Linked DNA regions of Homo sapiens: region 1 is linked to region 2. The links are contacts of gene promoters, found by promoter capture Hi-C in blood cells and fetal thymus (Javierre and others, 2016). All regions are on one chromosome and are shown on one strand. Each heading gives the region's core, a stretch centred on a gene start or on the middle of the fragment in contact. The rest is flanking DNA. Distances are from core to core; before and after follow the strand shown.

Evidence for each region. The method cuts DNA at HindIII sites, captures the fragments that hold promoters and counts their contacts. A CHiCAGO score of 5 or more calls a contact.
Region 1: a contact is called between a fragment that was not itself captured here and the fragment with the promoter of EIF4ENIF1 in region 2, in 2 of 17 cell types (total B cells and naive B cells). The highest score is 5.9, in total B cells.

The regions. Positions count from the first base shown.
Region 1 is chr22:31,942,002-31,949,325 of GRCh38, reverse strand. It overlaps YWHAH (tyrosine 3-monooxygenase/tryptophan 5-monooxygenase activation protein eta), which reads right to left and starts at 4,791. Exons shown (of 2, transcript NM_003405.4): 1 at 4,506-4,791. The coding sequence starts at 4,592. It overlaps LOC124900477 (a long non-coding RNA gene), which reads right to left and starts at 4,492. Exons shown (of 3, transcript XR_007068065.1): 1 at 4,091-4,492; 2 at 3,648-3,826; 3 at 174-1,862. It overlaps YWHAH-AS1 (YWHAH antisense RNA 1), which reads left to right and starts at 3,960. Exons shown (of 3, transcript NR_171018.1): 1 at 3,960-4,093. RefSeq lists enhancers at 3,821-3,870, 4,614-5,471, 5,472-6,329 and silencers at 4,191-4,530, 4,601-4,820, 4,831-4,920, 5,201-5,350. The HindIII fragment of the contact is 578 bases long and covers 1,838-2,415 here.
Region 2 is chr22:31,487,952-31,494,750 of GRCh38, reverse strand. EIF4ENIF1 (eukaryotic translation initiation factor 4E nuclear import factor 1) reads left to right here and starts at 4,909. Exons shown (of 19, transcript NM_019843.4): 1 at 4,909-5,057; 2 at 6,006-6,128. The coding sequence starts at 6,033. RefSeq lists enhancers at 408-457, 3,895-3,954, 4,354-4,976, 4,977-5,600 and silencers at 4,505-5,154, 5,235-5,524. The HindIII fragment of the contact is 26,330 bases long and covers 1-6,799 here.

The DNA.
Region 1 (7,324 bases), core at 877-3,376, 460 kb before region 2:
CTAAAAATACAAAATTAGGCGGGCATGGCATGGTGGTGCATGCCTGTAATCCCAGCTACTTGGGAGGCTGAGGCAGGAGAATTGCTTGAACCCGGGAGGCAGAGGTTGCAGAGAGCCGAGATTGCTCCATTGTACTCCAGCCTGGGCAACAAGAGCGAAACTGTCTCAAAAAAAAAAAAAAAAAAAAAAGTAAAATATGTTATATAAACTTGCTAAATGTAACACACACACACATAAAACGTTAGGGGTACCCTCTCCGAAACCGTATTTCTGGAAAAGTGTGACGCTACAGTCTGTCACTGATATAAAATCCCAGACAAAGACCAACTAAAGAAAATCCCCACCAAAGAAAATACATTTTTGGTTTCTTTAAGGGAGTCAGTTCCGGACTGTGGAAGTTCTTCTGGGGATAATTCAGGGACCCAAACCCACATGGGGACTACAGTTTCTATTTCAGTGCAAGAAAGCCACGTAAGCTGTTTGCCCACCTGAAAGGACCTTTTAAATTCAAACTATTACAAGAATAATCCAGAGCCTTCTTCCTTCCTCAAAGACGATTACATTTTAAATGCCCAGTTAGTGGGAAACATAGCTCCCTAGTTTTTACATATTTCAAACTGTAGTATCAATGTGGCTTTAAGATTTCCTACTGGTTGGGTGTGGTAGCTCACTCCTGTAATCCCAGCACTTTAATAGGCTGAGGCAGGAGGACTGCTTGAGGCCAGGAGTTTGAGACCAACTTGGGTACCATATAGAGATCCTGTCTATACAATTTAATAATTAGCTGGGCACGGTGGCATGCATCTGTAGTCCCAGCTGCTCAGGAGGTTCACTTGAGCCCAGGAGCTCAAGGCTACAGTGAATTATGATCGTGCCACGACTGCACTCCAGCCTGGGTTCCAGAACGAGACCATCTCTTTAAGAAAAAAAAAAAAAATACTAATCACACCTCAAAATCCTCCTACTCTCTGTGACACTGATCTGTCTCACCTGGGGCAGTCAGCTGTGCACTTTTACACAGCACCTGCTCATTTCCCCACTTCCCAGAATCTCACAGTTGTTGCAACAACAGCCTTTTGCCAGTGGTTGGGCCAAATGCCCCTCCTCTCCGACTCCTGTTTCCTTAAACTGTAGTTTTGTTTCCTGCACTTAAGATTTCTAGGGAGCCGCTGTGGCTCAGGCCGGTTGCCCTGGCACTCGGGGAGGTGAGGCTACACGTTCGAGGCCAACCTGGTCAACACTGATTAAAAAAAAAAGATTTCTATATATATATTCTGCAGGTACTTTAAACGTGTTTCTGCCCGTTTTCTGTCAACACTGTAATCAACTGGTGTATCAGTGTTAAAACACAATGCTAGCCCAGTAATTTTTACATTTGATAACTTTACAGTTACCATCTATGTTTTAATATAAAATAGATGACTTAGGGCCATAATACATGATGAAATTATGTCTGTCTATGAATATCCACCAGAAATCTATCTGGTTATTTTCCCTCTTTCCTTAAATCACTTAGTCTTCTGGACTAACATTTAATCCCACTTTATAGGTTTATTTCAGTTATCAAATGGTATTTACAGAGACTACGAATTGTGTAGCCTAGAATTGCCTAGCCTAGAAAGGACTTAGGTTCTAGAATCTTTCACAATATTTCTTCCCACTATTATACTCTATGCAAGCTGGTAGGTATGAGATAGAGCTTGAAGATACTCCTTTATGCTTCACTTCAGAAACATTTCTTGCTTCTTCAAATTATGGAGAGAAGCAGGGAAGAGAAGTTCTCAACAGGTTTGAGGCAAGACCATTGTTTCCAGTATGCACGATTTTTCTTCAAGCTTACCAACACTGTCCTCCAGGTGACGCTGGTAGAATGAGGAACATCAATCATTACAGGAAGGCAGTATTATCAAGTGAGCATTTTAATTATGAAGGAAACAGAAAACAAGTTAGAAGACTGAAGGCAAAACTGACTTGTTAATAACAGCAACATCACTAGTTTTATACTTCAGAGGACCTAAAGCCAAGATGTAAGTTTCAAGGTTACAGACTGGTGGCATCAGAATATATCCTTAACACATGTGTCCTGCTCCATCCTCCCTACAGCAGGCTACTTACCTGCCCTTCCCCAGCCCTGAAGAAAGCCCAGGTAAACCCAGAGGGTTACTGAAACTTACACCCTTTCCAAAAGCCTTAGTTAAGGCTGATGAGATTAATAACATAGAGACTGAGTCATCCCAGTAACATTAAGAATTTAATCTACAAACACCAAGTTAGCAGGGAAAGTGACCCCTGCCAGTCCCTTCCAATATATTCTTTTTTTTCTTTTAAAGAAAATACCTATAAGCACAATATATTCCATTTAGATGATGGGGGAGAAATGGTTTATCACCATTCTGAGATGGCAGAATTAAAGCTTGGATTGACTCTTCTACGCTGGGTGGCTTTTCCAACTCATTAATTATTTCAAATATAGATATTATAGATTCCTTTGGTTTACAAAAGGCTACCTTAACCCTCCAGAGAAGATCTATGGACACAAGTAGCTTGCTGCAGGAAAGCATTTTACAAGCCTACTAGAAAGCCAGTCTTTTTCTCTGCTCAAACTAGATTTCGTTCTGGTAACATCTCTCCATTCTTGCCTTTTTCCCCCATTTCAAGTTGCCTCAGGTTTCTGATTGTTCCAGAACACACCTTCTAGCCATTTTTCCTTAACCTCCATTTCCCCTTCCTTTAAACCTCGTCCCTCCTTTCTTTTCACCACATTTATTTCCCAAAGGGCTCCGAACACTGCAGTCTTTACGTCTCACTTAGAGGGTGAGCAACCACTTCATGAAAATGTGTGGAGAGGCCTCAGCCTGCATAATCCCAGCACCACTCAGTTACTGGGGAGGAGGGGCTTAAGTGTGACCTGCTGTGGACAGAGGCAGCTTTATCCCACAGAAAATTAAGGTTCAGGGTCCCTTCCAAGGAAATGCATTCGTCAGTCCCATTTTTGTAAAATATGCAAAACTATATTTTAGATTTTCTTTTAAAGGACCCCCTGAATTACATAAAGTTCAGCCTCCAGACCTAGACCGTCCCCCGGTCTGGAAGAAAACCTGCCTCACCACAACAGCATGCTAATAGTGCTCAAGTCAAGATCACCAACAAATCAACATACGGGCAACGGTGTTGCTGGTTTCCAAACACACCCAGTTATGTGTGTAACAAGGACACCAGAGGAAAGGCAACTCTTCAAGCACCTTTCTTACCTGAACAATCCTAAATATTGGCCCCAACTACATATTTCATCTGATATTAACATCAAAAGCCTTCAAATGAGCTTTCCAAATGACTTAAGATTTTAGGGAGCCTTTGTATTGGCAGTTTTTTTTCGGAACTCCCTCCAAAAGGCCAGCAAAGGATACATTTACTATAATCATGGGCAGTAATTCTCAGACTTAAGCCAGCTAAAAATCGCCTGTGAGAGCTGGTTACAATGCAGATGTCTGAGTCTCACCGCCCGAATTTCTGAATGTATAGGTCTAAGGCGGAGTTCAAGGGGATCCTCCCAGGTCTCAGGAGGTTGTACACTGAACATAGGTTGGTGGTCGCAGTTGTTCTACCACTGTGTGACCTTGACGCAGGGAGAGGAAATATTCATTTACAGAAAACGTAAAATAACGTGGAGAGAGAGTGAGATGGTAACCGGAACTCAGAAATGCAGGTGGTGTGTGACCCACGGTATTTTGCTAGGGTGTGGCTGGGCACGACTCATCCACCGGAGAAGCTGCAGAATCGATTTATGAGGGTCTCAGGAATGCAAAGACACACAGATTCGTCTCACCTAGAAGTCACGTTTCATTTTAATCTCCAAGCAGACAGCGCAGCAGCAAACCTGGGGCTGTGGAGTGGGGCCCCACACCCTCCGCCCACTCTCCCGCCCCCGTCCACGCCTAGACTGCAGGAAAGGGGTCTTCGCACACAAAGCCAGACCCCCAGGCGTGGGAAGATGGAACCAGAACAATTCGAACGAGCAGAGCAAAACAGATCGGAATTGCAGACTTCAGGTCGTGGCAGAGAAAACCAGCTGAGACAGGGCGCCACTTACTAGGTGATTCTTTATTCCAAGTTGGGGAACGGAGGAAGACGAGAGGGGGAGCCCCCGGGTCCGGTGAAACGCTCTAGGAGAAATGCGGCTCCTTCGCGTCCCCTAGGGCACCCTCTGCCCCCGGCCGGGTTCCGAACTAAGATGTGGCGACCCCGACCGGCCCGCCCCCCTTCCGGGGCTGCCTTCGCGATCCCGAACTGCACCCTCCCGGATCCCCCACCCTGGGCCCAGCCTCAGGAAGTGGCGGGGCGCCCAGCGGGAGCGGGAAGCGCGGGCTAAGGGCGGGCGGGCGGCCACGCCCAGCCGGGTCGCCGGGTCGCCCATGGCCGGGAGGGGAACGCGCCCGCGGCCATCCCCGTCCCTCCCCAACGCCAGGCCCCCCCCGGCCAGCCGCCCGGGCTCCCGGCGCGCTCACCGCCTTCATAGCGGAGGCCATGTCGTCGTAGCGCTCCGCCTGCTCGGCCAGCCGCGCCCGCTGCAGCAGCTGCTCCCGGTCCCCCATGTCGCTCGCGGCTCGGCCTCGCCTCGCGCCTCACACCGCTGGCTCGCTAGCCCTCCCGCCGGTCAGTCCGCTCCCCGGTCGCTGCGGAGGCCGCCGCCGCGCACGCGCACTGGCTCGCCGGCCGGCCGGAGGCTGCAGGCTGCAGGCTGCAGGCAGCGCCGCCGCTCGCGCCCTCTCGCTGGCTCGCCCCGCGCGCTGTGGCTCGCGCCGCGGACAACGCCGAGGGAGGAGACGCGGCCGCGCTGGGGGATGGGAGGACGGGACGACGCCTGCGCAGTGAGAGTGGCCAGGCCGGGCGGCGGGGAGCGGCGGGAGTGGGAGGGGGGAAGGGCGGGCCGGCCCTAACGGTCTATTTCAAGGTGACGTCACCTACTATAAATAGCCACCGCCGCCGCCGCCGCCCGGCCTGAAAGCCGCGCAGGCGCTCTGCGAGTGCTGCATTTTACCGCCGCAGAGATGGAGGTGGAGAAGGGAAAGCCGGGCAGGAGACTGCGGAGCCGGTGGAGGGGGCGCGGTGATGGCGGCTGCACAGGCAGTGCATTGTCATAGCCCCACCCTGAAACGCGCCACTCCATCCACGTTAGAGATCTGGCTTGAGAAGGGCCCCAAAAGCAAGCAAACATACTGGCGGAGAAGCCGGGAGACCGCGTGCCCCGAGGGGCGGGTCCGCCCAGCCCCGCCCCAGCCGTCCCGCCCGCCCCGAGCCCTGCCTGTCCATGCGTTCTGCTGGGCCACACCTTGTACTGGTCCGGGCAGGATCGAGTCCGACCCTCGGGGACAGCCCCGCTACACAGACACACACAATCGAACCCAACCTGAGACGTAGCCTTGGGCAGGCTGTGCCTTCCACCAGAGGAGGGGACTGGGTGGCCAGGGCGGGACAAGTAATATTCAGGACACATTAGGAGCCAGCCCAGTGCTAGTCCCGTACAAGCATCCTCCTCTTTAATCCTCACTACCCAGCCCACAGTGGGCACAGCTGGTCTCCCCATATTTAAAACGTGGAACCTGAGGAAAAGCGAGGTTAGTGACTTGCTCAGGGTTACGCAGCCTGTAAGTGGTGGGGCCAGGATCTGAGTCCAAACCCAGGCTGAACTTTCTCTTGTGGCAAAGAGCTGGGGTGGCCCAACTGGCTGGTCACTGAGCCCCTCCCAATCCTGGCTGGTATTGGATGCTGAGGGTCCCTTGTGCCAGGCCCTGGACTGGGCTGCCCGACAAGCTAGGAAAATGATGATTAAAACAAGGCCCCCACTTGATTTCAACACGCCAAGGGCAGTGCAGGAGAGGGGGCCTTGGGCTCGCTGAGAATTTTATTGAGCATCTACTGCATGCTCAGCCCACAGGGATAAGCTGGATCTTGAAGGAGAGTCAGGAAAAAGATTAAGGCCTGGGGTACAGCATTGGCAAAGGCTTGGCAGTGACCTGGGAGATGGTGAGAAGAGAGGCCTAAGAATGGGAAGTGAGGTTGGGTAAAACAAGATTACGGAGTCTTTTAAATGCCAGGCCAAAGATTTGAGGCTTCATCCTTAGGTAATTGGGAAGCCATATTTCAGGCCTGGAATCTTGCTCTAGAGAGTAAGACATGTTCGAAGGGAGAAGGGAGGGAACTGGAGACCAGGCCTTTTCTGGACCTGTTTTCCATCTGGAGAATTGGACTTAACTGTTTCAAGGACTTTAGAATAGATATCCACATGCTGAAATGTCAGAGCTGGCAGGACCCTTAGAATCACCCCTGTCTAACCCCTTATCCTGAATAACGGGAAACTGAGGTCTGAGGGAAAGGAGGGGCTGGCCCTAGTTTGCACAGCGAGTGAGCAGAGCTGGGGTCTCCATACCAGGTTTCCTGCCTCCCAGGCCTTCCTCTTCCTGCTATGATGCTGAAACGATCACACTTCTGGGGGCCCATGAAACAGGATTTGAATGTGGGTCTAGGAGGAGGCCACTACCCCAGGCTTCACCATGCTTTGAAGAGTCACTTTTGCTGTTGGAATCGAGGTTAACAAACCAGGCTAATCTTTCCCCTAGTGAATATATTTAAAGAGCATGCTAGATAGTAATGAATCATCCACTCCACCCCCCATAAGGATGGGGTCCCAGTGAGAGATGGGAGGAGGGCCAGCCCTGGATGGGGGGACCTCCTCGGTTCCTTCTAGCTCTTAGAGGGCTTAGAGCCCTTCCAGCTTTTCTGATGAGGTTGGACTAAGATTGATTTCAAAACAGTGAAAATTAGGTAGAGCTGGAGCATTCTAAATAATTGATTTCTGACATGTGTAAAGGACACTCTGGTTCTCCCATGAAGCTTTTCTTCTCACCAAACTTCCTCATCTCCTCTTCCTCACCTCCTACCCACCCATCAGCTCAGTGTGCTCTCACCCTGTCCCTACTCCTCCACCGTGGCCATCAGAGCCCTCCTTGTTGTCAAAGCCAAGGAGGTTTCATAGTGCCCACCTCCCTGGCCCTCTTGGCTGGACTGGGCACGACTGCTCACCCTTCCTTGACCGACTCTCCCAGCTTCCCTTCTGCTGCTCCGGCCATTGCTCTTCTATTTGCTGTATGGGCTTGTCTTCTAGCCTACCCCAAAATACTAGGGTTCCTCAGGGCTTTGTCCCGAGCCCTCTTCACACACTGCCCTATCCTTGGTGACCCCATCCTCATGCACTCTAAGGAACCATCTACCATGTTCCTAGTACCAGGCAAGGTGCTTTGCAGAAACGTGCATTTTTTTTTCCCTC
Region 2 (6,799 bases), core at 3,660-6,159:
CATCTTAGAGGCTGGGCACGGTGGCTCACACCTGTAATCTGAGCATTTTGGAAGGCTGAGCCAGGAGAATTGCCTGAGCCCAGTAGTTCAAGAACAGCCTGGGCAACATAGTGCCCATCTCTACAAAATATAAAAAATTTGACCAGGCGCGGTGGCTCACGCCTATAATCCCAGCACTTTGAGAGGCCAAGGTGGGTGATCACTTGAGGTCAGGAGTTTGAGACCAGCCTGGCCAACACGGTGAAACCCCATCTCTACTACTAAAAATAGAAAAATTAGCCAGGCGTGGAGTCACGAGCCTGTAATCCCGGCTACTCGGGGGGTTGGGGCAGGAGAATCGCTTGAACCTGGTGGGGGCGGTTGCAGTAAGCCAAGATCCTGCCACTGCACTCCAGCCTGGGTGACAGAGCGAGACTCTGTCTCGAAAAAAAAAAAAATCTAAGGGTTACTCTTGGAGCAAGAAAAACTGAGTAGGAAAAAGCCCATTTAGAGAGGTGCAATCCAGCCTTCTGTGATGAGGCTGCTGAAAGGTCATGGCCTGGCATTAAACTCTCTCACAGGTGCTCTCATAATTTCTGGGTTTCTAGTATTTTCTTTTTTCTTTTTTTTTTTTTTTTGAGACAGTTTCACTTTTGTCACCCAGGCTGGAGTGCAGTGGCGCGATCTCGGCTCACTGCAACCTCCGCCTCTCAGGTTCAAGCAATTTTCCTAGCTCAGCCACCCAAGTAGCTGGGATTACAGGCATATGCTACCACGCCCAGCTAATTTTGTATTTTTAGTAGAGACGGGGTTTGGTCACGTTGGCCAGGCTGGTCTAGAATTCCTGATCTCAAGTGATCCTCCCACCTTAGCCTCCCAAAGTGCTAGGATCACAGGCATGAGCCACCATGTCCGGCCAGTTTCTGGTATTTTCATTTGCTTCTCTGCTGTTCTTGGACTGCTAATTTCCCCGACTGACTGAACCTTTGAGACCCCTTATGCCAAACTTTGGGCCAACAATTTAGACCTAAACCAAGATCTTACACATATTTAGTAAAGAACTAGAATAATTTCTCTCTCAAAGAGCTTTCCCAAGCTGATACTTGAAAATTGGTTATTAGTTGCAGAAGGGGGCATTTAGAATTACAAATTATTGGCCTGGCACGATGGCTCACACCCAGCACTTTCGGAACCCAAGGTTGGGGGATCACGTGAGGTCAGGAGTTCAGACCAGCCTGGCCAACATGGTGAAACCCCATCTCTACTAAAAATACAAAAGTTAGCCAGGTGTGGTGGCACAGGCCTGTAGTCCCAGCTTCTTGGGAGGCTGAGGCATGAGAATTGCTTGAACTCAGGAGGCAGAGGTTGAGTGAGCCGATTGTGCCACTGCACTCTAGCCTGGGCGACAGAGCAAAACTTGGTCTCAAAAAATTACAAGTTATAGGCCAGGCGCGGTGGCTCACACCTGTAATCACAACACTTTGGGAGGCCAAGGCGGGTGGATCATGAAGTCAGGAGATCGAGACCATCCTGGCTAACGTGGTGAAACCCTGTCTCTACTAAAAATAAAAAATTTAGCCGGGCGTGGTGGCGGGCGCCTGTAGTCCCAGCTACTCGGGAGGCTGAGGCAGAATGGCCTGAACCCAGGGGGCAGAGCTTGCAGTGAGCCGAGATTACGCTACTGCACTCCAGCCTGGACGACAGAGCGAGACTCCGTCTCAAAAAAAAATTACAAATTATCAGGCCGGGCGTGGTAGCTCATGCCTGTAATCCCAGCACTTTGGGAGGCCGAGGTGGGCGGATCATGAGGTCAGGAGTTTGAGACCAGCCTGACCAACATGGTGAAATCCTGTCTCTACTAAAAATACAAAAATTAGCTGGGCGTGGTGGCATGCGCCTGTAATCCCAGCTACTCAGGAGGCTGAGGCAGGAGAATCACTTGAACCTGGGAGGCAGAGGTTGCAGTGAACCAAGATCACACCATTGCACTCCAGCCTGGGCGATACAGCGAGACTCCTTCTCAAAAAATAAAAAATAAAAATAAAAATTATCCTGCCAAGGAGAGTAACACTCAAAAACTACAATGAAACAAGAATTTGCAATTTGTAAGCATCTAGCTTTTGCCAGGCACAGGTGAAAGAAGTTTAGGGAAGCCTCCCTTAGATTATTACCTTTTTTCCTAGGTAATAACCATCTTCTTCTATAAGGACAGAGTGAGACTTTGAGAGGTAAGAAATGAGTTGAGGCCAAAGTTCTACAAGACATTAAAGGAGCCTAGTGGAAAAGTAGGTCCTAAGTAGGATAGACCAGAGGGCTCAGGAAATTAGTTCCAGCTATCAAATCATGATAGCTACAATGCCCTGGGCACTGATATCATGTATGGCTTGTGGTGGTTTAAAACATGCCTACACATTCCTTGACATTCCTCCCACATAGAGGTGGAGTCTAAGTTCCTTTGCTTTGAATATAGGGTAGCCGTGCTGACTCCTTTCTAAGGAACAGAATGTGGCACGTGGTAGAACTGATTCCAGGGCTAGGTTAGGAAAGGCAATACAGCAACTATATGGCTTTCTTGTTCGCTCTCTGAACACTTGCCCTTAGAATCCAGCCCTGATATTTCAAGGAAGCTCAGACACAGGGAGAGGCCATGTGTAAGTGTTCCAGGGACAGCTCTAATGGTCCCAGGTCCTAGCTGACAGCCACCATCAACCACCAGACATGTACGCTTTTACGGGACCCTCAGCCCCAGCCTTTGGGCTGCCCCCACTGGTGCTGAATGGATCAGAAACCAGCCGTCCCAGCAGGAACCAGCCCATTTTGCAGATTTGAGAGCAAAATATAATTGGAATTCTGGGGTGGTTTGTTACGTAACAGTAGGTAACCAGAAATCCATAATTTCCGGGTTTCTAGTATTTTCTTTTTCAAGAAAGCTCAGGTGTGGTGGCTCATGCCTGTAATCCCAGTGCTTTTGGAGGCTGAGGCAGGAGGATCACTTGAGGCCAGGAATTTGAGACCAGCCTGAGCAACATAGCAAGATCCCGTCTCTGCAAAAAATCGTTAAAAATTAGCCTGCTGTAGTGGCAGGAGCCTGTAGTCCCAGCTATTTGGGAGGCTGAGGCTGGAGCAGTGAGCTATGATTGTGCCATTGCTTTCCAGCCTGGATGACAGAGCAAGACTTCATCACCCCCAAAATAAAATAACCAGAGCAGTGTTTTTAATGTTATCTTTAATTCCCTCTGCAAGCCTAAAAAGTAGGTATACTGCGATCCCTTTCGGAAAAATGAGGAAAGGGAGATCCAGGTGGTGAAATGCCTGGCTCAGGTTTCACACTAATTGGCAGGGTCAGGATTTAGCAGCTTCAAAGAACGGGCCTTCTCCACTACTCCAGGGAGTCTCCAAGACACTAAAGGGGATTAGACCTGTTTCCCACAGCTTTAGGAAGAATTTGGATTCCAAAAACAGCTTGATTGTTAAAATAATAACATCTGTATTATCACCTGCAACGTGTCTCTGTATAGGCTTAAAAAGGCTCAGCAGCTTTATGGGTTATATATGGTTTTTTACCCACCTTATCCTGTTTAATCTTAACTGCCCCATGAGCAGGTTATATCATCTTCGCAATTTCACAGGTAAAACTAAGAATCAATAGACTAACTCTCCATAGCTTGTAGGAGGTGGCAGAGATGAGAATGCAAACTCAGGCCTGATGTGCAAGTGTTTCCCTCTGCCTCTTGCCTGTAAAAAAACAGTTTGTAAGAAACACACTTTATTCAGTAATACAAACGAAAAGTTTTCTGTTGCCAAGATTCACAAGAAGGGAGCTGAGTTAGTGGTCACTCACTGCCCAACACCCTAATTTCACAAGTGAAGTGAAGTTCCAACAAAGTAGGCCTCTTGGAAGAAATGTAGACGTTGCTGTCCTTTAACCAGGAAAATTGCGTTCTCGGGACTTCACGCCTATGTATCGCTTCACACCAACGCTGCGCAGTACCACAGGGCAGAAATGGGTGCTTGTGGTATTCCAGCACATAGGACTTCCTCCCCAGGATGCAGTTACCCACACTGCTCACATATTTGCATTTCTGTGGCCCCCTGTCAGCCTGAGTCTGCACTACGTGGTAAGCACTTGACATTCGCCGTCTCATTTCCCCAACTCCACTCGCACTTCCCCTTTCTGTGCAGGCTAAGGACAGATTCAGGTTACCGGAGGGAAACAACATTTCAATGAATTTGTTAGTCGCCTTTATCGCTATCAAAGCCAATCGTGACAAGTTTGTCTTTTAATGCAGCAACCAGTACTCGCGCATAAGCCTCATAGATTTACAGAGGCCATTTTAGAAACACGACCGAAACTTAGGTTAAGTCAGCTTTGCCTAAGATCACGCCACTCGCAAAACAGCTGAGGTTCGAACCCGCACTGGGAAGGCTCGGAAGACCCCAATCTCCTATCTCAAATTCCCACTGCCGAAGCCCCACGGTTCTCTGCCTATGCGAACCATGCAAATACAGCGGTCGTCGCGCCACAGGCCGTGCTAGCCGCCAGCCCAGCCCCATCTAGCCACCGCCTCCGGGAGAGTGGCGTGCCGCGAGTCGCGGGTCCCAAGTGCCGTCCGCTCTGCCCTGCAGCGCGCGTGGGAACGCGGCGGCGGTGGCCTCTGGGCTGCCCACGGCGACCGCCTGCGCGCACGGGAGCGGGTTTCCGCTATCCCCACCGTGGCCTCCTCCTCGCCGCCACCACCTTCCCACCCCCCGGCCCGCGCAGGGGCTGGCGTCCGGGAAGCGCGCGGCGATGCTTCTTTTTCGCCCGGCACCGCTGCAGCCACCTCACATCCGGGCGCGCGGCGGGGAAGGCGGCGCCGGGGCCAGGGTGCGTGGAGGGAGTTATTAAGGGGGAGGGGGCCGAAGAGGAGGGGCGGAGGGCCGGGCTGCAGTTACGGCGGCTGAAGAGAGACAGCCCAAGCCGGTCGGGGTGGGGGCGCGAGAGCGAAGGCTGCGGGGAGCGGCGCTGGGACCGGTGCGGGCAGCGGGGAGGGGAGCGGCGGCCGAGGCAAAGGGCCGCCGAGCGGCGGAGGCACCGAGTAAGGGTCGGCGGCGGTGGCGGCTGGGTCCGGGGCACCGCGCGCCCGGTGCTCCCGGGTGTAGAAGGGGCGCGGGCGCATTGCTCCCGGGGTCGCGTGCGTGAGCGCGGGCGCCGGGGCGCCCGCAGGGGGTGGGCAGGGGCGCGAGGCCCGCAAGGCGGCCGGCGGGTAGCCGGCGGGCTGGCTGGCGGGGACCGAGCCGCCGGGCCGGGGAGGACGGCTGCGGGCCTGCGCTAGCTCCAGCTTGAAGCGCCCGGGCCGGGAGATTCGGCCTCCCTCCTCCCTGCGGCCGGCCGCCCCTCAGTGAGTACGGTCTCCGCCCTTCCTCCGAAGGAGGCCGCTGGGCCCGGGCCTGCGTGAGGGGCTGCGGGTTGGGGTCGCGGCCCGGGGAAGCCAAGTTTCGGAGCTGAAGCCGGTGCTCGCCCTTTCCTTGCCATCGGCGCCCCTGACATGGCCACAGGTGCGGCTGGCCTGGCGAGGGGCGCTCGGGCCCCGTCCCCAGTCCCTGATCGCCGGATAACAAGGGGCAGCTGGCGCCGTCCATTGGCAAGTGACAGGCACTTTCCAACAGACTTCGCGGGTTCCCAGCCTAACCAGTCTTCTACCTGCCCCCACTCCGGGAAACTTCCCCACCAGTCTTGAAAGATCCCCATGGGTGGCAGCTACTAATCTTGGTTTCTCTTGTGTTAAAGCTGCTTAAAGGTTATATACCTTGAATTGGGCACCTTCTACTTTTTACCATGTTGATGCTTAGGATACTAGGAAAGAGAACTGAGTACCAATGATTCTATCTCCAAGTTCTAATTTATAGCATAATTTTGGGGTGGGGACTTGTTTTTAACACTAGCTGTTTTGAGAGATTAAAAAGTTTCAGCTTCTGAAGAAACAGCCAAGATTTCTGAAAACTTACTGTTCTCGGTGACAATTTTGTGCCGATTTATCTTCCAGGTGCAGAGCATTGTAGACCAAGGAGCCATGGATAGGAGAAGTATGGGTGAAACAGAAAGTGGAGATGCTTTCCTTGACCTGAAGAAGCCTCCTGCCTCCAAATGCCCCCATCGCTATACAAAAGTAAGGTTTGCCACTAATGAAATAGTGTTTCTTTTTAGGTGGCGAAGTTAGTAACATTGTATAACTATTTCATTCCTATTAAGTGGTAATCTCATTCTGACTCACTACATGGACTAAATATTAACTAAATTTAGTAGTGCATTACTTTGAACATTTTTCTGCAAGTGTAGATACCCAGCGTTTAAGCTGGAATTTGCTTTGAGAGGCTTTTAGGTGAAGGGAATGTAGGCTTAGATTTTTTTAAAATTGCGGATCAGTATACTTTGTAAGTTCTGTAACAGCTATGTAATTGGTACGTTTATTGATTTACATACTGTACTGTGAGGATTAAAGCCCTAGGATGCGTTACAAAGTTAGTGTCCTCTGTATTGATGTTTCCTTAAGAGGCAGACTCCCCATAGGAATGCTCTTGAGTGTGCTTTTCATGGGTAACTGGCTTTTCAATCCTGTTTTTTTATTTTCTATTACAAATTGGATATGGACTCAAAAAAGTAAGGCTTCAGTCATATTTCCCCTAGCTAAAAACTGGAGATGCTTAAACTGCTTGTCCAGATAACTGCTTTTGGGAGAGAGAGGAAGTCATATTTATTAAAGATCTTGCATCAGTACATGTCTTGTTGGCTACTGAATGTTTTTGAAGAGGTTGACAGGACTCAAATTGTAAATTCATT